7 separate regions of the Homo sapiens genome follow, and regions 1, 2, 3, 5, 6 and 7 are each linked to region 4. Evidence: promoter capture Hi-C in 16 types of primary human blood cells and fetal thymus (Javierre and others, 2016). All regions are on one chromosome and are shown on one strand. Each heading gives the region's core, a stretch centred on a gene start or on the middle of the fragment in contact. The rest is flanking DNA. Distances are from core to core; before and after follow the strand shown.

Evidence for each region. The method cuts DNA at HindIII sites, captures the fragments that hold promoters and counts their contacts. A CHiCAGO score of 5 or more calls a contact.
Region 1: a fragment that was not itself captured here is called in contact with the fragment with the promoter of MRPL42 in region 4 in 5 of 17 cell types (naive CD4 T cells, non-activated CD4 T cells, fetal thymus and 2 more); the score reaches 9.6 in naive CD4 T cells.
Region 2: the fragment with the promoter of PLXNC1 here is called in contact with the fragment with the promoter of MRPL42 in region 4 in 10 of 17 cell types (naive CD8 T cells, total CD8 T cells, non-activated CD4 T cells and 7 more); the score reaches 8.3 in naive CD8 T cells.
Region 3: a fragment that was not itself captured here is called in contact with the fragment with the promoter of MRPL42 in region 4 in 3 of 17 cell types (fetal thymus, total CD4 T cells and activated CD4 T cells); the score reaches 6.0 in fetal thymus.
Region 5: a fragment that was not itself captured here is called in contact with the fragment with the promoter of MRPL42 in region 4 in 1 of 17 cell types (fetal thymus); the score reaches 7.8 in fetal thymus.
Region 6: a fragment that was not itself captured here is called in contact with the fragment with the promoter of MRPL42 in region 4 in 5 of 17 cell types (non-activated CD4 T cells, activated CD4 T cells, naive CD4 T cells and 2 more); the score reaches 7.6 in non-activated CD4 T cells.
Region 7: the fragment with the promoter of CEP83 here is called in contact with the fragment with the promoter of MRPL42 in region 4 in 1 of 17 cell types (total CD8 T cells); the score reaches 5.4 in total CD8 T cells.

What each region holds. Positions count from the first base shown.
Region 1 is chr12:92,781,497-92,784,207 of GRCh38, forward strand. It overlaps EEA1 (early endosome antigen 1), which reads right to left. Exons shown (of 29, transcript NM_003566.4): 23 at 454-639. Among named protein-coding and RNA genes, the nearest start is that of PLEKHG7, 80 kb to the left of the region's middle. The HindIII fragment of the contact is 1,541 bases long and covers 623-2,163 here.
Region 2 is chr12:94,147,249-94,149,948 of GRCh38, forward strand. PLXNC1 (plexin C1) reads left to right here and starts at 1,329. Exons shown (of 31, transcript NM_005761.3): 1 at 1,329-2,700. The coding sequence starts at 1,724. RefSeq lists silencers at 1,096-1,225, 1,236-1,485, 1,556-1,785, 1,916-2,155 and an enhancer at 2,356-2,455. The HindIII fragment of the contact is 5,941 bases long and covers 1-2,700 here.
Region 3 is chr12:94,088,787-94,091,640 of GRCh38, forward strand. No RefSeq gene overlaps it. Among named protein-coding and RNA genes, the nearest start is that of PLXNC1, 58 kb to the right of the region's middle. The HindIII fragment of the contact is 6,898 bases long and covers 1-2,854 here.
Region 4 is chr12:93,466,228-93,469,065 of GRCh38, forward strand. MRPL42 (mitochondrial ribosomal protein L42) reads left to right here and starts at 1,287. Exons shown (of 6, transcript NM_014050.4): 1 at 1,287-1,327. RefSeq lists enhancers at 1,119-1,178, 1,239-1,508. The HindIII fragment of the contact is 2,939 bases long and covers 1,068-2,838 here.
Region 5 is chr12:94,127,448-94,130,298 of GRCh38, forward strand. No RefSeq gene overlaps it. Among named protein-coding and RNA genes, the nearest start is that of PLXNC1, 20 kb to the right of the region's middle. The HindIII fragment of the contact is 7,025 bases long and covers 1-2,851 here.
Region 6 is chr12:94,107,585-94,110,364 of GRCh38, forward strand. All of the region lies in intron 1 of LOC124902986 (a long non-coding RNA gene), which reads left to right. Among named protein-coding and RNA genes, the nearest start is that of PLXNC1, 40 kb to the right of the region's middle. RefSeq lists an enhancer at 1,718-1,997. The HindIII fragment of the contact is 6,207 bases long and covers 1-2,780 here.
Region 7 is chr12:94,458,576-94,461,381 of GRCh38, forward strand. CEP83 (centrosomal protein 83) reads right to left here and starts at 1,292. Exons shown (of 17, transcript NM_016122.3): 1 at 982-1,292. It overlaps CEP83-DT (CEP83 divergent transcript), which reads left to right and starts at 1,428. Exons shown (of 1, transcript NR_027035.1): 1 at 1,428-2,806. RefSeq lists an enhancer at 1,709-1,758. The HindIII fragment of the contact is 10,845 bases long and covers 1-2,806 here.

The DNA of each region.
Region 1 (2,711 bases), core at 143-2,642, 680 kb before region 4:
ATATTAGTAAACCAATGCTTTCAACTTTGAAACTTAATAAACTCCTTAGACAATCTGGTTCTTAATTTTAAGAATTCTTAACATGTTTAAGAATTATTTCTAGATCTTTTATTATCTCATTCACACATCTAAAGGATAATACGTTATATGAGAAATAGTTGAGGAACTATATTATCTTTTCTGCAATAACCAAGGGTCTATGGTGTGAAAAATTGACTTGTTTGTAAAACTAAAGAGCAGTAAGAAAAAAGGGTAGAAATAACAAGGAGGCCATTAAGAAGTACTTCCTAGCATTAAAATCCCAATGATCAAAAGTGTCAGAAACTAGAGGTCCCTCTGAGAGAGCTGTTGAAAATAAGGATGATGCCTGTACTAAATAAGAGGTTTGACTGGATGATCTCTAAGACAACTGTAACTCTAAGATTGTAGATTTAGGTCAGAAACATGCAATACCTTTTCTTTCTGAATGTCTTGTAGTGCTTTACATCGCTCCTGCAATTGCTGTTCTTTCTTTGCTGAATCCTGCTCCAATGTAGCCTTGGCAGTCTTCAGTTCTTGAATCAATTTATTTTGATTTCCAATTTGATTTCTGTTTGAAATCAAGTCCTCCTGTGCTAGAGAAAGCTTCTCTTCTACAGACTTACAAAAACAATTTTCCCAAATTATTATATGCCATGTTTTTAGTAAATTCAACAGAAACATAGTTAATATAAACATTGTAGAAAGCAATAAACTATAAAAAGATAGCATATTATACCCTTCAGTAAGACAGGTAAAAGAGAAAGAATTCTAAAATATTAACTCTCTTGCTTATAGAAAACATTTATAATATAAAATATTTAGTAAAATGGAAGCAATTCCAAAGCCTCCAAAAATAATCTATTTACTAAATAAATATTTAAAGTATTTGCTGAATGTTGATCACATCTTCAATATTGGCTAGTTGATATGAAAGAATACCAAATAAGTAGGGACCATATCAGATACACTCAGAGAACATATATATGGTTAAAGTCATAAGGCAGTGTGAAAGAAAACAATCTTAAAAGAGATATAATTAAATGCTTCATTATGCATACATATACATTTGGTAGGTTCTATGATGTCCCTTGACATGCTAAAAATATTAATAAATAGTATGGTGTTATGATATAGTGGTTTTTGTCCAGGGTTCCTGAATCACAACTCCCACATCCTTTGTTACAGTTTTTTGTTACAATGTTGGGTATGTTAGGCCTCAGGAAACAGAATCTCGTCTCCTGCCCTTCTTCCACTGGTCCCTAGGCAGGCCTCTAATCTTCTTCCCCACCCCATTTTCTGATTGTGAGTCTTAAGACTCTTCCCTGAAAGGGTCCTGCCTCATACCCTGGGTGAAAGAATGCTTCCATAAAAATCCAAGAGAACTGGGTTTGGGGAACTTCTAGATAGCTGAACATACGGAGCCTGGAGGGTGGCATGCCCGGGGAGGGCACGGAAGCTCTGTGCCCCTTCCCCCATATCACCCAACACATCTCTTCATCTGTATTCTCTGTAATATCCTTTATAATAAATCAGTAAATGTAAGTAAGTTTTCCCTGAGTTCTGTGAGCTGTTCAGCAAACTAACTGAACCCAAAGAGGGTGTCATGAAAACCCCAACTTGAAACTAGCTAGTTGGTCAGAAGTTCTGGAAGCCTGGATTAATGATTGGTGTTTGGAGTTGTAGGGAGCAGTCTTGGGGATTGAGCCCCCAATCTGTGGGATTTGATACTATCTCTAGGGAGATACTGTCAGAATTAAATTGGAAGACACACAGTTGGTGTCTGCTTCTTGGTGTGTGTGGGAAAATCCCCATATGTTTGGTCACAGAAGTCTTCTGTGTTGATGATTGTTGTGGTGTGAGAGTAGGGGAAAAACACAATTTGAGAGAGTTTTTCCTGAAACAAATAGGAAGGATTATTTTGTCATGGAATAAAAATAATAACAACTTCACAGCTGACAACCTGATCAAGTGAACAAAAAGAGAAAATTCAGCCAAACATAGAATGAGGCTCTATCCTGAGAAAGCACACTGTCCTCTTCTCATCTATATCGTAGAAGTAGTGATTGTCATTTAACATAGTCCATAGTTGTTGACTGTTTTAAAGCCCAAGTATTTTGAGAAGAAGAAGTTGGGGAAAGGGGAAGCTTTTTCACTCATGACACTTCAGTTGGGGATAAATATGGTAACAGGTAGATAATGGGTATGGTAGGAACCTTGCCACTCTCAGCTGCTACTGCGAAGAATCAGCAGGGTAAGAGATCCAACTGATCTCTTCCATCAGATCTGGAAAAAGCTGATCTTTCTTATTCTGGAGATACAGCTCCTTTGAAAAGGAGGCAGAAAACGTAATTTAGCAAAGGATCCTTGCTGAGTAGGCTTGTATACAGCAAGTACTCAGTAAAAAAAAAAAGAAAGATGAAATAAATAAATAAAGATCTTATTTATGAGGATTCTTAAGCTTCCTGAAAGTTTACTTCTTACCAGTAACCCAGTTACGTCTTTCTGATATAAATTAAATCTTAATTTTCAATGACTGCCAGTAGAACACTAAACCCCTTGAGGCTTTTTTCAGGGAAGAATTAACATCAGCTAGTTCTTCACTAATCCAGCACCTAACCATTAATTGAGAACACTGCTAAGACAGAACAGGAGGGTACAAGCTGGTCTTTGACTTAAGGGAGTTGAGTACA
Region 2 (2,700 bases), core at 79-2,578, 680 kb after region 4:
CCCGGGAAGCTGGGAGGCATTTGTGCATCCTCTGGGAAGCCCCATTCCGAGAAATCATGAACCTATTCCCCAGTGGGCAATGATTCCCTGTGCTTCAGAAATTCTTGGCGGCTGTGGGGGCAACCCAGCTGTTATTCACCCTCTGGGTGAGGTGGTGAGACCTCAGGGGGTCCAAAGGATAAAAGTGGGTAATGATGAGACAGATGGAGAGCCTCGAGGGAAATACGGGGACTTGGGTCTAATAGTAGAAAGCAGGGCGGGGGCTGGTTGGTGCATTTAACTTGAGGAACTTTTCAGTCTCACTACAGAGAATGATCTCTGGGGGATTATGGCAATGGCCACAGGTGGCACTTAACTAGAGCCAGGTATGTAAGAGGCCCTGGGGCTAGATATGGATTCGAATCTCGGCTCTGATATCTACCAGCAGTAGAATGCCAGCACGTTCCACAACCTTTCTATAACCATTCTCCTGGACTACTAAGTAGGGATGACAATAACAGTCACTAATTAATAGGGCTGTTATGAGAATTATGAGTCTTAACCCATGTGGTGAGTTCACAAGCGCACCCGGCACGTAGTAAGTGCTCAGTAAATGTTAGCCCCGCTCATTAGGTTAGATGGTGAGCAGAACTTTCCAAGTGCTAGGCTTGAGAGCCTGGGACTCTGTTGCCAAGGGAGATTAGAGAACCTTTGCAAATATGGGCGCTCCGGCCCTGGGGATTGTCCAGAACGAGAGTGTGGCGCCTGCCTTTCTGCCACCTCACTCATCCGACCCGGGGAAACCCACACCCTGTCACAGGGGCGCCTTGGTCCCCGGAGTCTCCGGCTCGGCCATGTCTCCCGCGCGCCTCCCCGGGGCCTCCCTCTCGCCGCTCCACACCTGTCAGCCGCTCTCGCAGCAGCCCTGTGGCCCGAGCCCGGGGCCTCAGCTGCAACCCCTTCGCACCCTGGATCCTCGCTCCGCGCGCCTGGCGTATCCCCGACCCGGCTGCTGTCGTAAACAAAACCGGGCGTTGGAGCAGCACCGCGGGCGGACGGGCGCGGGAGCCCGCTCCGTGCGCCGTTAGCGCGCCCCGGGAGCCCCAGGCGAGCCAAGGGGGCGATGGTGGCGGCCGCGGCGGCCGCGGCGGGCGGCTGAGCTTTGTTATGAATAGATGAAAGAGGCCACCTACACAGTAACCCAAATTACGAGACCTCCCTCCTCCCTATCTCACCGAATCAAGAGGGGAGGGGAGATGGGCGTGGAGGGAGGGCGGGCGGGCGGGCAGGAGGCGGAGGGCGGAGGAGGAAGAGAGGATGAGGAAGGGGGCCAGTTGCATCCCACTTTCACAATGGGAAAGTGAAACGCACAAGCGCACCCAACCTCTCCAGCCCTCCCCGCCCGCCTCGCTCCTCTCCGCCCGTCCCCTCCCTTCCCCTCCGCGCCTCCCCGCGAGCGCCAGCGCTGCACACAGGAACTCTCCGGCGAAGGAGGGCGAGGAGGAAACGGTGCCGGAGCGCGCAGGGCTTGCTGCCGCCACCGCCGCTGCACAGGCTGCCGGAGCGAGCCTGCCGCGCGCCGCCCTCCCCGCTCTCCTTCCTGGGCGAGCTGCGGGGATGGGGCGGCCGCGGGAGCCCGAGCGCGCGCAGGAACCGCCGCCGCCGCCGCCCGCGTCTCCGTTGCCGCGCGCCTGAGCCGCCGTCGCCGCCGCGCGCCCTGCCCGGGGGCGGCCCCCCCAGCCCCATGGAGGTCTCCCGGAGGAAGGCGCCGCCGCGCCCCCCGCGCCCCGCAGCGCCACTGCCCCTGCTCGCCTATCTGCTGGCACTGGCGGCTCCCGGCCGGGGCGCGGACGAGCCCGTGTGGCGGTCGGAGCAAGCCATCGGAGCCATCGCGGCGAGCCAGGAGGACGGCGTGTTTGTGGCGAGCGGCAGCTGCCTGGACCAGCTGGACTACAGCCTGGAGCACAGCCTCTCGCGCCTGTACCGGGACCAAGCGGGCAACTGCACAGAGCCGGTCTCGCTGGCGCCCCCCGCGCGGCCCCGGCCCGGGAGCAGCTTCAGCAAGCTGCTGCTGCCCTACCGCGAGGGGGCGGCCGGCCTCGGGGGGCTGCTGCTCACCGGCTGGACCTTCGACCGGGGCGCCTGCGAGGTGCGGCCCCTGGGCAACCTGAGCCGCAACTCCCTGCGCAACGGCACCGAGGTGGTGTCGTGCCACCCGCAGGGCTCGACGGCCGGCGTGGTGTACCGCGCGGGCCGGAACAACCGCTGGTACCTGGCGGTGGCCGCCACCTACGTGCTGCCTGAGCCGGAGACGGCGAGCCGCTGCAACCCCGCGGCATCCGACCACGACACGGCCATCGCGCTCAAGGACACGGAGGGGCGCAGCCTGGCCACGCAGGAGCTGGGGCGCCTCAAGCTGTGCGAGGGCGCGGGCAGCCTGCACTTCGTGGACGCCTTTCTCTGGAACGGCAGCATCTACTTCCCCTACTACCCCTACAACTACACGAGCGGCGCTGCCACCGGCTGGCCCAGCATGGCGCGCATCGCGCAGAGCACCGAGGTGCTGTTCCAGGGCCAGGCATCCCTCGACTGCGGCCACGGCCACCCCGACGGCCGCCGCCTGCTCCTCTCCTCCAGCCTAGTGGAGGCCCTGGACGTCTGGGCGGGAGTGTTCAGCGCGGCCGCTGGAGAGGGCCAGGAGCGGCGCTCCCCCACCACCAC
Region 3 (2,854 bases), core at 175-2,674, 620 kb after region 4:
TTCTTTAAATTCTATCCATGTTCTTATGTCACCAGAGAGCTTACATTCTATAGTATATTATTTTATGTCCCTACAGAAATGTATTCATTGAATGGTTACCACCATATATCACTGATATTATAATGTGCCCTTTTGTCATTTTAACATCTTTTAATTTAGAATGAATTTTATAGCCTATGGAAAGTCATCATGTATTTGGCAGTGTTTTCCTTTTCTTACTGATACATAAAATAATGATATATCTATTATCAACGATGTCTTCAATTCAACAAAGTATGGTATTTAAAATGTGACTCTATCCTGTTCCAGGACTGATATAAGAAATAACTACAGTCCTACATGGCTTAACAACAGGATACATTGTGAAAAAAATGCATTGTTAGGCGATTTCCTCATGTGCAAACCTCATAGAGTGTACTCACACAAATCTAGATGGTACAGCTACTACACACTTAGGCTGGCTGTAAGGCATCACCTCTTGCTCCTAGGCTGCTAACCTGTACAGCATGTTACTTTACTGAACACTGCAGGCAACTATAACACAATGGTAAGTATTTGTGCATCTGAACATATCTAATCACAGAAAGGTACAGCAAAAATATAGTTTTATAATCTTATGGGACCACCATAGCATAGGCAGTCCATCATTGACCAAAACATCGTTATGTGGTGCATGACTGTATTTAAAGACCACCTCCATGCTTTCTACAAAACTATTATGATACATCATGCATTCTCTGGTTTAATGCCCCTAAAACAAAACTGGCACAATAAATCTCTAGTTCCCTACTTTTAGCTCTTTTCTATGTCCAAGAGGGTGAGTTGCACACCATAATGGCTCCACAAATTGTTCCTGAAAATCATTGAAAATAATTTAAAATTAAGAATACAAAACCAGGCATAAACATTTGGAAGGGACTCCAGCAACTGAATGGCTCTGAGGCTTAAACTTCACTAGGCTCTAGGTGTGGCCATGTGTCTGGCCAGTGAAATGCGAACAGAAGTGTGGAGTGAGACTTATGGGAAGTCTCTTTACAGAGAGAAAAGAGGCCTCTCTTCTTTCCTTCCTCCATCCCACAATCTAGAACTCACGTGTGGTGGCCTGGGCTCCAGCAACTATATTGGACAAAGAAAATAAAGGACATAGCCCAGATGGAGGGACAGAAAGTCTAAAGGAATCTAAGACTCTGATGACTGTGAAGCTGCCTGCCAACCCCAGGCTGCTTCCCTCCCAGACCTCTTGGGTTGTGAAGGAATGAAGCATTGATTGCTCAAACCACCATCTGCGGTTTCTCTTGTTATCAGCCAAACACAGTCCACCACTGACACAGCATCATAAAGTATCTTGGTCCATACAAGAAGGGCATACGTTGCGGCAAGGATGGAGGTCATGGAATGAGCCTAAGACTGAAGGTCAGAAACTCTCTTTCTAGTCTTTGCTACTCCAGTCCTGTCTTTAGCTTGCTCCAGGAACTTAAGAAACCCACTTAAGCTGTATTTACTTTAAGTTTCCTCATTTAAAAAAAAAAAATACAACTTTCTCCCATGGAGTTATGCTAGTAAATCATATACAAATAAGAAAGGACTTTGAGATGGTGAAATCACACATCTTTGTTCTGGTTAATGGTAGCAGTGATGCACTGAGAGAGAATCTTTTCATGGTCCCGTTCCTGCTGAATGAGTTCAGATCTAGACCCCCATATCCTGGGCAGTGCCAATGTTAAAAATCAAACCATAAATAGTGGTTCATGGAGTAGGCACTTAAAAAGTCTTCAAATTATGAGGCAGTTGCAAAGAGTGATCAGTCAGTTCCCACATTCTCCAAGGATCGTGATTAGGAAAAGAATTTCCTATTTGGGTATCATCTCAGAGATGGTTCCCTAGGAACAGAGCCTATGAAATTGGTATTCTCGTGTGAACGGATTTCAGGAGAAGTATGTAAAGGAGTTAGGGAAGCAGGTGAGACAGAGGAAGAAGATAGAGATGTGAGTTCAGCTGAAGTCTAGCCTCAGCCCCATCCCACAGGGAGCTCTGGAGCGTGACCGGCACCAAGGAATTGTCCGACCTCAAGGCAAGGGGACCAGGCCTTTATAACCCTGTGCCTGCCAGTCACTGGTGCAGACCACCCCTGAGGGTGAGGGGTTCTCCCAAGCATCTCTGGCTGAGGAGGTTCCCACTGGCGGAGGACGATTCTCCAGAAAGAGCGTGCCTGAGATCAGGCAGCAGCCAGCACTCCCAGTAGCTGTGTGGTGGTGCACTAGTCTAATAAGGGGACCTGGGTGTGCATCCCCGCATCTACCACAGGAACAGAATGCTGGAGTATTTGGGGAGGAAGCTCCTGACCACTTCTCTAGAAAGTATTATTCATACCTTTCAAGACTTCCCAACCTGCTACGCTATAGACCTCTGTTTGGGGCAACAATAGGTGTGCTCTCAGTGATAAATTCTGAGCTTGTTCTTTAATAGGCAACAGGCAAGGAAAACAAGGAAAGTGTTACTGTCATTCAGGCTTGGCTTCCAGGATTTCTCCACAGCCTTGGGGATTTGAAGGTGTTGGTGAATCCTACTTTTTCTCTTCTTTGGATTCCAAACCAATGGAGAAATCATCCAGGAGGATCAAAGATCGCACGAATGGCATTCTTGCCCTGAAGGCTGGTTTTAAGACTTGTCCTGGATCCAAGACCAAAGGGAGTATCTTCTCGTTCCCCTTGATTTGAAGTTGCACCCTGGTCACAGAGCAAGCAATGGTGGGGCAGGCACTCTCAGCTGAGTGGAGGGGAGGGGGATGGGTGCCATTGGGGGCAGGCAGAAAGTGTTGAGGAGGGGGACTTCATGCCCTCTCCCCATTTTCCCA
Region 4 (2,838 bases), core at 37-2,536:
GCTCACGCCTGTAATCCAGCCCTTTGAGAGGCCGAGGTGGGCATATCACCTGAGGTAAGGAGTTCGAGATCAGCCGGGCAAACATGGCGAAACCCCATCTCTACTAAAAATACAGAAATTAGCTGGGCGTGGTGGTGGCCACCTGTAATCCCAGCTAATTAGGAAGCTGAGGCAGGAGAATCGCTTGAAGCTGAGAGGCGGAGGTTGCAGTGAGCTGAGATCATGCCACTGCACTCCGGCCTGGGCGATAGAGCAAGACTCCGTCTCAAAAAAAAAAAAAAAAAGAAAGAGACATTCAACGAGCAAACAAATAATCAATATAAAGTCAGGTAATGGTAAATATTCTGAAGGAAAATAAAGCGGGGCATGGAATAAGGGTGGGTGAGGCTATTTTAATGGTGTGGTCCTTTCTAAGATGATATTTGAGAAAGACCTGTAAGGTCATGAGAAGAGGTCAGAGAAGCACATTGCTGGCAATGGGAACAGAGAGTGCAAAGGCCCAGAGGTCTTTCCTTCCTCCTAAGATGGAAAGCGAGGTCCAAGATTCTGCATATTTACTTCCTCCCATAATAGGTAGCCAGCACAGTTCTGAGGGCACAGTGCCAGGTTTTCAGAGTGGAGGTTCTCTTCAGGTTCTGATTTCAAACGTCCAAATCCTAGCCTCCACATTTCAGGGCTTCTCTGGAATGTCTCTTCCCCTGGGAAACTTTAACTCATCTACTAAAGAGCAATCTACGATTTCTCTGAATATTAACATAATTTTTTTAAAAAGTACTTATAGGTTTGCATGGTGGCTCATGCCTGTAATTCCAGCACTTTGGGACGCCGAGGCAGGAGGATTGCTTGAGACAAGCCTGGGCAACATACCGAGACCTCGTCTCTACAAAAATATTAAAAAATTAGCTGGGTGTGGTGGTGTGCGCCTGTAGTACCAGCTACTCAGGAGGCTGAGGTGGGAGGCTCTCTTGGGCCCAGGAGGTAGAGGCTGCAGTGAGCCGTGAGGGAGCCATTGCACTCCAGTCTGGGTGACAGAATGAGACTGCCTCACAAAAAAAAAAAAAAAAAAAAGCTTGTTACTTTCTAAGGGTATGTGTTTGGGGCAGTGATTTTGTTTTTCTGGGCACCTTAGTAACACTGCGGCCACGCTTCCCCAACTAAAGGTAAAAGTCCATAGCAACAATCCTCCCTTTCTCTCTGCACCCGGGCCGCTTTCCCGCGGAGACTACATTTCCCAGAATGCCCCGCGGGCTGGGACGGCGCGCGCAGCGCTGTTTCGTGGGACCAGGATTGAAACAAGATGGCGGGTTCGTGGTGAGAAGCCGTCAAGGTAACCGCTTCCCTCTACTCCTCCTGTCGAGGACTTCCTCGAAACTGGGCAGTCCCACAGTGTTGGTCGGCAGTTGTAGAGGTCTCCCGCCTGTCGTTCCCGGCAGGGCGAGGTTGCCTGCATCCCCAGCCTTTGTCCTTCCTGCAGAAGAGCCGGCATGTGGCTGCGCGTTTCTTATAGCGCCCCCTTTGTTCCCTGGCGGACGCCCGTGGGGAGGTGATGCAGCTTGTGGCTCTAGGGACTCCTTTAGGTCGAAGAGTTCTGGTGCTCTTGGTAGCCTGTTCCTCAAACCTCTGACCCTCAGAGGCTCTGTAGCTTTTGTTTTGGGGTTGAATTCCGGGCTGAGGGACTTGATCTCTGAAATGATCTTCCTGGGGTGAATAATCTGACTCCCAGCAGGGCGTGCTTTTCTCTGGGCTTCGGACAGAGGGGACCTAATTTCCCCCAAGATGTTTTATTCGTGGTCAGAAGTCATGGGTTTACGTCCCACGCATGTATTAAGCAGCGATATACTGAGCAAGTAATCGATTGACCTCTCTGAGCCTTTGTTCTTAATCTGAAATGGAGATGCTGCTTCACACACTTGTGAAAGTCAGAGCACATATTGTATATGAAAGTGGGTTGTAAACTAAAAAGCACACCTATGAGCTCAGGGTTAACGGTGTTAATGTACTGGCAGTGCAAGGTATCAGTGTGAGTGGTTTAGACTAGCAAATAAGAGGGCCTGTGTCCTAATTCTCTTTTATCACTATTGGGGGGAAGGGCACGGATACTCATTGAAGACTATTAAAAACAAGATTTAACAATGGTTATTTGTCATTTATTCACAACAGGCCATGAAGATTGTGGTTTTCCCCATTTTGTCATTGGAGAAACTGAGGATCGTTTAGTTAATGACTTGTTTAAAGTTTCCCAATTTGGCAGTGACTGACTCTAAAGTCCTTGGAAGCAAGACGTTTAAATTTTGTACTTTAGTTTCTTCATGAATCAGAATAAAGATACCTCACATGATTAATACGAGAGCAAAATGAAATGGTGGTGAAAGTACGTTGGAAAGTTAAAGACTTTGTACACATATAAGATGGTGAAATTTTATCTGGGACTTGAGGGCATTTATGAGTTCCTCCAATTGAGTAATAGGCTAAGGATAGGCCTTGTTTGATATTTCTTTATTATTATTATTATTATTAATGGCTCAGGGCAGACAACTATTTCATTTAATCAGAAACAGGATAGTACTGTAAATGATGTAGTATCTTGTGTATGGAACCTTGGAGGGTGTACACAGCCACACTAGCATTAAAAGAATGAATACTCTGTGTACCATTTGTGAGTGACTGTTTCAAGAGTAATTACACATTTACTGAGTATTCATTAAGTGGAAGGAGCTGCACTGGGTCCTGCAGAGAAGTTTGTATCTAAGATAAATAGTAATGGACATAGTTCCAGTGGTTCTGATCTTATATTCTGTCCATGTCGCTCTTCGTCCTGTTGTTCAATCATGTGGAATT
Region 5 (2,851 bases), core at 96-2,595, 660 kb after region 4:
CTTTTACTACTGGGTCACAGGTGCACCAACAGATAGGCAGGGCTCCCCGAGGAAATGACATTCAAATCTGACAATTTTCCTACATCACTAAGAAGTTGTGGACCGGTGGAGGTTGAAAGTGTTGATTAAATTAAGGCTTGGAATTACCTGTGGATTTTAATTACCATTCTACCACTGTCCCAGTGTCCTCTGTCTCCCCACCGCCACGCTCTCCTGTAGCTCTAATGAGACACTTATCAGATGCTATTTTTGTTTGTTAGTTATCTTTGCTCTGCATACGGTCTTCCCACAGAAACTGTGTTCTCCTTCTCTTGTGTTGCCCCTGGTGCTTGGCAGACAATAGATCCCCCATAAATAGGTGTGGCTGAACTGAATCACTGTCTATGGTACATACCCAGTGGTCCTTCATGGTTGAAGATGTCAGTGCTAACATGATGATTTTCTATATTGGATTTCTTACGTCTATTTGGATTTTATTACGCAACATTTCTTCTACAAATGCTGAACACTATGTACCAGGCATCATACTAGATATTAGAGACAAAGATGAATATAATATGAACTTCCTTCAAGGAGTTCTGAGGTCACAGGGACACTAGACAAATACATATCGCGATGGAGTGTAACAAGAGCAAGTGTAGGCATATGGACTAGGTATGTCGGTGACACCCAGAAAGGGCTGGTCATTTCTGGAGAATGAAAATGAGAGTCAGAGAAGATGCTGGAGTGGGAACCCAAAGCATGGGTTGGATTTAGGCAATGGCAAGAGGGACGGGGAGAATTCCAGCATCAGAGAACTGTGACTCTTTTAGGATGTAACAATACACAAGCATTCTTTACGTACCGGACACTCATTTCTTCCCTGCTAAGAGAACCTAGTTGTGTATCTGGGATAATCTTAAGGAAGGTAAGTTCCTCCTCCAGACTTGGGCTTATGAGCCAATCATGAGCCAATTATGGTCATTCTTTTTCTCTTCACCAGACATTGGTATAGTGTGGGCATGTGACCACATTCTGGTCAATGACGTCTAAGGGGGAAGTCTGCTCAGGGATTTCTGTTTGGGCAAAAAAAAAAGACAGAGTCTTGCTAGGAGAAAGTAGCCTTCCCCTCGTTTTGAAAACAAATACAATGTTTACAGTTGTGGCAGTTATCTTGTGACAGGAGAAAGATATTAAAAGCCTGGAGGGGCTCTTTAATAGTAACACTGAATAGCAACCAGTACTAGCAACTGGGCTCCTTCTTGTGCAAGAAAAGATTAACCTCTACTTGCCTATGTTCTAAGTAATTAGGGGTTTTTTCCCCTTATAGCTAAACACATCACAACCGATGTATACAGCTTCTGAAAACTATTTTGCACAGGTCTCCCCAGTGGGTATCAATGGGGTCACAACTAATACCCCCTGAGTTTTTCTGCCTGATTATCCCTAACTTGTATAACTCTAGGACTCAACCTCTTCCTCCTTCAATCTCTCCAGTCATTTTGGGGAGTCCCCAGGGGAATATCTTTGAGAATGTAGCTTCTTCCCTGATTCTCTCTATCCTCCCTTTGATGCAAGGAGAGTAAGAAAGCCCTTCTCTCTGACTCTGTGTTTCACTCTGCCACTAGACCCGAAGGTGAATGGGTCTAGCTCCATTCATGGAATGGGACCCCAAGATAAATGCCCTGAATGTCATCAACTTTTGGTCAGCGTATACCTTCTAGCTGCTGACTACCCCTGCTCTCTATTAAGGAATGTCTGAGGAATAGTAAGCATACTAATTTCATCTACTTTCCTTTGTGTCTTTCCATAGAAGGCTAGCATCAACCTCTTCCTTTAGACAGACCAAAACAGCAACAATCATCTGCAGGCTTATCAGCCTGTGCCAATAGATCCCCAGAGTTCAGATTAGCTGGCCCCAAGGAGCTACTCTTCATCTAGCTCAGCCCAGAGCCCAGTCACATGTGCACATGAAGGAATGGAAGACACAATATTGCAAAAATGGTCAGGCAGGGACCTTATATATCAAGCTAAGAAATATAAGCTGTATCCTCTAAGTCAGGGCTTCCCAATAAGTGTTCCATAGAGTGTTGAGATACTACCCTGCCCTCTCAGCCCTTGGGACTGCTGGGTGGAACCTGACAGAGGGAGCTCCTAGGCTGGTCACCTCTGGCAGCCAGTGCCCTTGTTTGGTGTAGGAAGGTATTGCCAAGAAGAGTGGGGCCCAATGAAGCCATGGTATAAAACAATTGGGAAACAATGGGGAGTCATTGAAGGATTTTTAACAGGAAGTAATCCCATCAGCTTTCCATATCGGAAGACAATGAAAGGGCAATGCAAAGGCTGGGTTGGAGGAGGTGGGCAATGAACCTGGGACCAGGACCACCAGTCTCACCTAAAATAGCCTAGTGATGAAATGATGAGAGGGCAAGCTAAGGAGTAGGAAAGAGAGAGGAGGGAGGATCTGGGAAATAAGAAATCTTTTTTTTTTAATTATACTTTAAGTTCTAGGGTACATGTGCACAACATGTAGGTTTGTTACATATGTATACATGTGCCATGTTGGTGTGCTGCACCCGTTAACTCGTCATTTACATTAGGTATATCTCCTAATGCTATCCCTCCTCCCTCCCCAACCCCACGACAGGCCCCGGTGTGTGATGTTCCCCACCCTGTGTCCAAGTGTTCTCATTGTTCAATTCCCACCTATGAGTGAGAACATACAATGTTTGGTTTTCTGTCCTTGTGATAGTTTGCTGAGAATGATGGTTTCCAGCTTCATCCATGTCCCTACAACTCATCCTTTTTTATGGCTTCATCCATGTCCATGAACTCATCCTTTTTATGGCTGCATAATATTCCATGATGTATA
Region 6 (2,780 bases), core at 171-2,670, 640 kb after region 4:
TGAGCTCAGTTCCTATGGAGTGACACAAAGGCATCACCGGCACATACAGTGGGCTGCATTACAGGAGGGGAACCCTGAGCTTAGAGAACCCAAATCTTTTATAATGGGCAGTCAGCATGCCTGCTCTTTGCTCCAGGAGAAGATACTATCTCTGTCTTCTAAGGCTGTTTGCTAATAAGCATCTTTGAAAAGATAACCCACAACAAAAAGTCAGTGCTCCTGCTCATAAGATGTGCAGAAGTAAGAGCGATCCGTGGAGAATTGCCTCTCAAGAGCATGTGGTAAGAACTTTATTATTACTATGGGAAAATGAACTTATACTACATAACTTTCTTCTGGTGACTTTAAAATTGATAGAAATTAGAGCAAATCAGGACATGGACTAAGGAAAAGTTACAAAGACTAATGGCAAGTCAAGGAATCCGAGTTAACATTCGGTGACTAGACTCCCAAATGCGTTTCACAAATGGGTTTCCAGAAAAACTGCTGTCAGCAATTGATTGTGATATGGGGCAAATGAGTTTGCAATTTCATGATGAATAATCTATCACTCCCTATCTTAGAAACTCAGGCATTCCATCTTTTTTGACAGGCAGCATGTATATTCTATTGCCAGGAAGGAAGGCAGTTGTCAAATTCCTAATTTTTCTCTTTGAAAAATTAACATTTAACTCAAACGTAAGATCTAGAGGAACACATAAGATCTTAATTACAAAGTGCAATCCAAGATTTGCACTAATTAATATGCTGATGAAAAATTCATTGAAATTCAGAGAAGAACCAAGAGGGAAAAAATTGGCCAGTGTTAACACTGAGTTCTATAAAATGTGTAAGTCTATCCAAATAGGCAGCTGCCTTTCTCGGATAATTATCATTTCATCATTCATGATTATTTTATTTGTAAGACTTTAGTTGCACATCCAAAACTATGCAGACAGAATATTTCCTTAAACTTTCTGATTTCTAACAGTTAAATTATACTAGTATATGAGGGACTTTTAAAGACCAGCTTAGTTACCTGAAATATGGGGGTTTTTTGTTTTTTTGTTTTTGTTTTTGTTTTTTTTTTAAGTGAGAGAAGCCATGTGCTTGATTCCTGGTTTTGGCATTCACTAACTGTGACCTCCCGCAGGTTGCTTAAGCCCTTTGAGCCTGTTCCTCCTATCCAAATGGGGACAATAATAATGCATGAGGTTGTGGTAAGGAATGGCTATTGTTGTGAATCAGTTGCATGCCTTCCTTTTAGTCTTCATCACACCAGACCTGGTACTAGATGGGGACTGAAATATAGTAACTGATTTGTTATTGATACAGCTGGGTTGATGAATAAGCTAGTAAGTACTCAGGCTGAAAACTGGGCTTCCACCCTCCCCAAGCCCCCAGGTCCTGAGACCTGGGAGGATAGAGATTGTATCTGCAGATCCACACCCAGGCAGCCTCAGGGAGGATGCCAGGCTGCCCACTGCCCCCCACCCCCGACCCCCATCCTCATCCATGAGGATTAGGAAAGAGAGCAGCCAGTGTAGTGAGAGGGTAAGGAAGGTCTCCTGGGTATCTGGAACTAGGACTGGAGAGGGGCCTCAGCTTGAGGCAGGCAGCATGGGTCCCTTTATGAGACCAGAGCTTTGCAGCGTGGAGGAGGAGGGAGAAGGGAGGGGTAAGGTTGTGTTCCCCTGGCCCCACCAGACAATCTCACCAATCTCATAACTGCTTCCACTCAATGGAGAGCGATCATGGGGGCAGATGTTCCTTCTGACTCATGAAGTTTCCATCTCCTGAGCAACTGAGTAAAAGCGCCCCTCCCAGGCCTCTCTGAGTCATCCAGCCCCCACGTGGCCAGTCCCCCACATGGCCAGCCCCCTCCACGGCCATCAGAGTCTCTTTCCAGAGTGAAAATTTAGTCAGTATCTCAGAGGATAAAGTCCAGCCAGACACATGAGGACTTCAGTGGTATGAACCCTGTTTCATTTCCCACGTCACATGCCCTTTGCCACACCACCCTGCCACTCCCAGCCCACCACTCTCAACCCCAAACAAGCCGTGCACCTGTTGTGGCCCAGCCCTCCCACCTAACATACCCTTGCCCCCTGTCCATTGGTCCACAGTACTCATCCTTCATGAACTACTTTAAACACCTCCTCTGCCTTGAACTGTCTCTGACTCTCACCTCCCAAGGCTGGTTTGCTCCTTATCTCCTGGGGGTCCCACACCTTGGTTTCTCTAAGCACGCACGCAGATGCCAGCTGTCTGGATTCAAATCCAGTACCTGTGTGACCTTAGGCAAGTTACATAAGTTCGCTGCTCAGTTTCCTTATTGGCAAAATAGGGATGACAATTGTACTGCATGGTGGTTATAAAGATTATACAAAAATACAAAAAACACTTATAAATTGTACTTGGCCCATACTAAGCACTTTATAAGCGTTGGCTGTTATAATCATTATTACTATTATTTACCAAGTTGGTGATTTTTCTACATCCTAATACCACTAGGTCTATTATTATTTCCTTTAAATCAACTTTATCAGTCTCCTGAGCAGTGTCTGTGGAATTACAGGTTGGAAGGGATAGTTATGTTTATATAATACAATTGAAAATAAAATACATAATGATTTAAATAAAACCTGATCATCTGAACTCCACGCCCGCCGTTCCTCACCATTATTTCCTCTCCAAGTACACCGGGAATAACACTGTTTTATGATGTTACTCAATCATTCATTCATCTGTCTGCAGAGATTATAAGTTGCATGAAGGCAGGCACCGAAGCTGGATTCATG
Region 7 (2,806 bases), core at 42-2,541, 990 kb after region 4:
TAAAATAAAAAAATTAGCCGGGCATGGTGGCACGCACCTGTAATCCCAGCTACTCGGGAGGCTGAGGCAGGAGAATCGCTTGAACCCAGGAGGCGGAGGTTGCAGTGAGCCGAGATCGCGCTACTGCACTCCAGCCTGGGCGACAGAGTGAGACTCAGTCATAAATAAATAAATAAAGCATTCTAACAATTCTGAACAAACTGAGTTTGAAATCAAACCTCAATACAAAAGGTGAGTATTAATTCTAACCACTTACAGGCTAAATTCATAAATATGGAAAATTCTAAATCCAGGTAACTGTAGGATAGATACCTTTAATTGTGTTTTAGTTAAATGTCAGACTTGTTTACAGACATGTTGCTTGGTAACAGAAGCACTGCTTTAACAACCCACTCTGTTTTAGAGCTGCTTAAAGTCTGAACAGATTATGAAGTATATATCATATACACGAAATTCAGACAAGTCTTTCCTTATCCTAGAGATCTGTAAGATTTGAAAGAGCTTCCTCATTTCAGCTAACTAAAGGCTTTACAAATACTTAGCAGTGGATATTCTTAAGAGCAAAATGCCCATTGATTATGGTCAAAAGTTGGACACTGAGGATTAACCAAAGTATTTAAACCCAGCATATGCTAACATATTTTAGGTGTTTATCTCAGTAATGACAGTCGACATCACTGTTCATTCAAATTGTCTTCAAAGCCAAGGAAAATGGTAGCATAGCTTTTTCATCGTAAATTAAGCTGGAGGTACTTAAACGTCTGGCCAATTACCAAACTGGCTACACAACCACCAAGCCAGAGTGCATCCAAAAGCTCCATGAAGAGTTTCACGTGCGTCTCTCTGCCTACTTTTCTAGCACGAGCTTCCACTACTTTAACAGGAAAATAAAAAAAGGATTCAAGGGCAGTTTGTGGAGGGACAAAATGAGTATTCCAAAATACAAACAAGACACCGTCCCCAGAAAGAGAGGTTACATACCAGACGCACGCACGCTCCTTGCAACCCGCACACGGAAAACTTAAGTGACCGCAGTTCTGGCCGCGCTCGCCACCGGGGACACCTCCACAGCTCCAACCACAGGCACCCACTCAACTCCGCTTACGGAGGCATTGGGACTAAGGGTTACGGTCCTACAGCGGGGTGTCGGCCCAGCGAGAGGAAGAGGGCCGAACGGACCCCTCGGGCTCCCGTCCCTAGGGAAATGTGAAGTATCCCGGGAGAGGTCCGAGGGCGGCGGCGGCGGCGGTGAAAAGCCCCACTCCTCCGCGTGGACCGGGATCCTCAGGGGTGCGGCGCCACCCCACGTGCTGACGTATGGCCCAGAAGCCGCCTCATCGCACCGCCCCACCAGCCTGGAGGAGCGGGCTCTGTCCCTTGGCCCAGCGGCACGCGAAGCAGGAAGTCCCACCCCCCACGCCGACGTCACCCACGCCACCGACGCCGGTTGCTGCCGGAGCCGTTAGAGGGAGGAGACAAACGAACCGAGGCGGGAGCGGCCACGGGTGACAGCGGCAGCGGCGGGGCCGGGCTGCGCTCCCGAAGGCGTTCCTGGAGGGCCCTGGGATGGACTCAGAGATCCCCAGAGCCCCAGGGGACGGAAAATCTAGCCCCGGGCACTTGCCTTGGAGTCTGAGTGATGCGCGTCGTTGGAGCGCGAAGCCGGTCTCCCTAGCCTCCGCCCGACACAGCGTCTCCAGGGGTTTTCCTCCTTTTCGCGCCTCTCCTTCCCTCTTCCCCACACCATTTGAGAGCCTCAAATGGTAGTCCTGCCGCCACCTCTCTCCCTTCGCCAGCCTGCCATCGTCCCCATGGGTGCAGATATGCGCTCCCGAAGCCGCCTGCCTGCCGCGTCTGCCTCGGGCATCAGCCCACGAGTGGGGAGTCGGCTCAGCTTGCCACGAGGGAACCTCGGGTTAGGACCAATCGCCCGGGAGAGAGCCCTCCTCGCCCCCGCACCTCCTGCTCCAAGTCTCCTGTCCTGGTTATCCCAAGTTCAGGGCCCACCTGGGGTCACATGGGGAACTACTTGTCTTAAGGCTGTAAACAATAGTTGGAAGAGGAGTTGCTAGCTTTTGAGAACTTCCATGATCATCCAAAGTCTGAAACAAAGTAGGCGGTCAGCCTTTCAAAATACGTGTTGGAAGAAACAGACACCTTCCCATCCCCAGCGTTTGTTCAGTGCCTTGGTTGGGCTTTGATTCTCACTGCTTTGTGAAGTACAGCTTATTTTTACCCCCAAGATTATGATTTTCAGGCTGTAGTTATTATTGGACAACTGAGAGGTGATTTTGTTGTTGTTGAAATGAGGGAAAACGGGCCATTAGAAAGGACCGTGTCTCTTAAGAGGAGGGAAAAAAAGGACAGCGAGTTGGTAATGGAATGTTGCTGGATGGATTACATAGATGAGACATGGGAGATAGAATAGAGAATCCAGAAATTCTCATGTATGTGTGCGTGTTTAGTATAATAACAGTAGCTCACATTTGCTGAGCATTTGTGTGGCAAGTACTGGAGTACTTTTTCAGGTTATCTTATTTAACTCTAACATTTCTGTAAGGTAGGTGCAATTGTTATCTCCATTTCACAGAGTTGCCCAAAACCATTACTTTTAAACGCTGGAGCCAGACAACTCCAGAAATCTCTGTGGTAGCCAGTAAACTATACATGACAAATTATTGGTCAGTAGGAAAAAGATCATTCGGGAAATGGCGGTGGCTCACGCCTGTAATCCCAGCACGCTGGGAGGCCAAGGCAGGTGGATCACCTGAGGTCAGGAGTTCGAGACGACCCTGGCCAACATGGT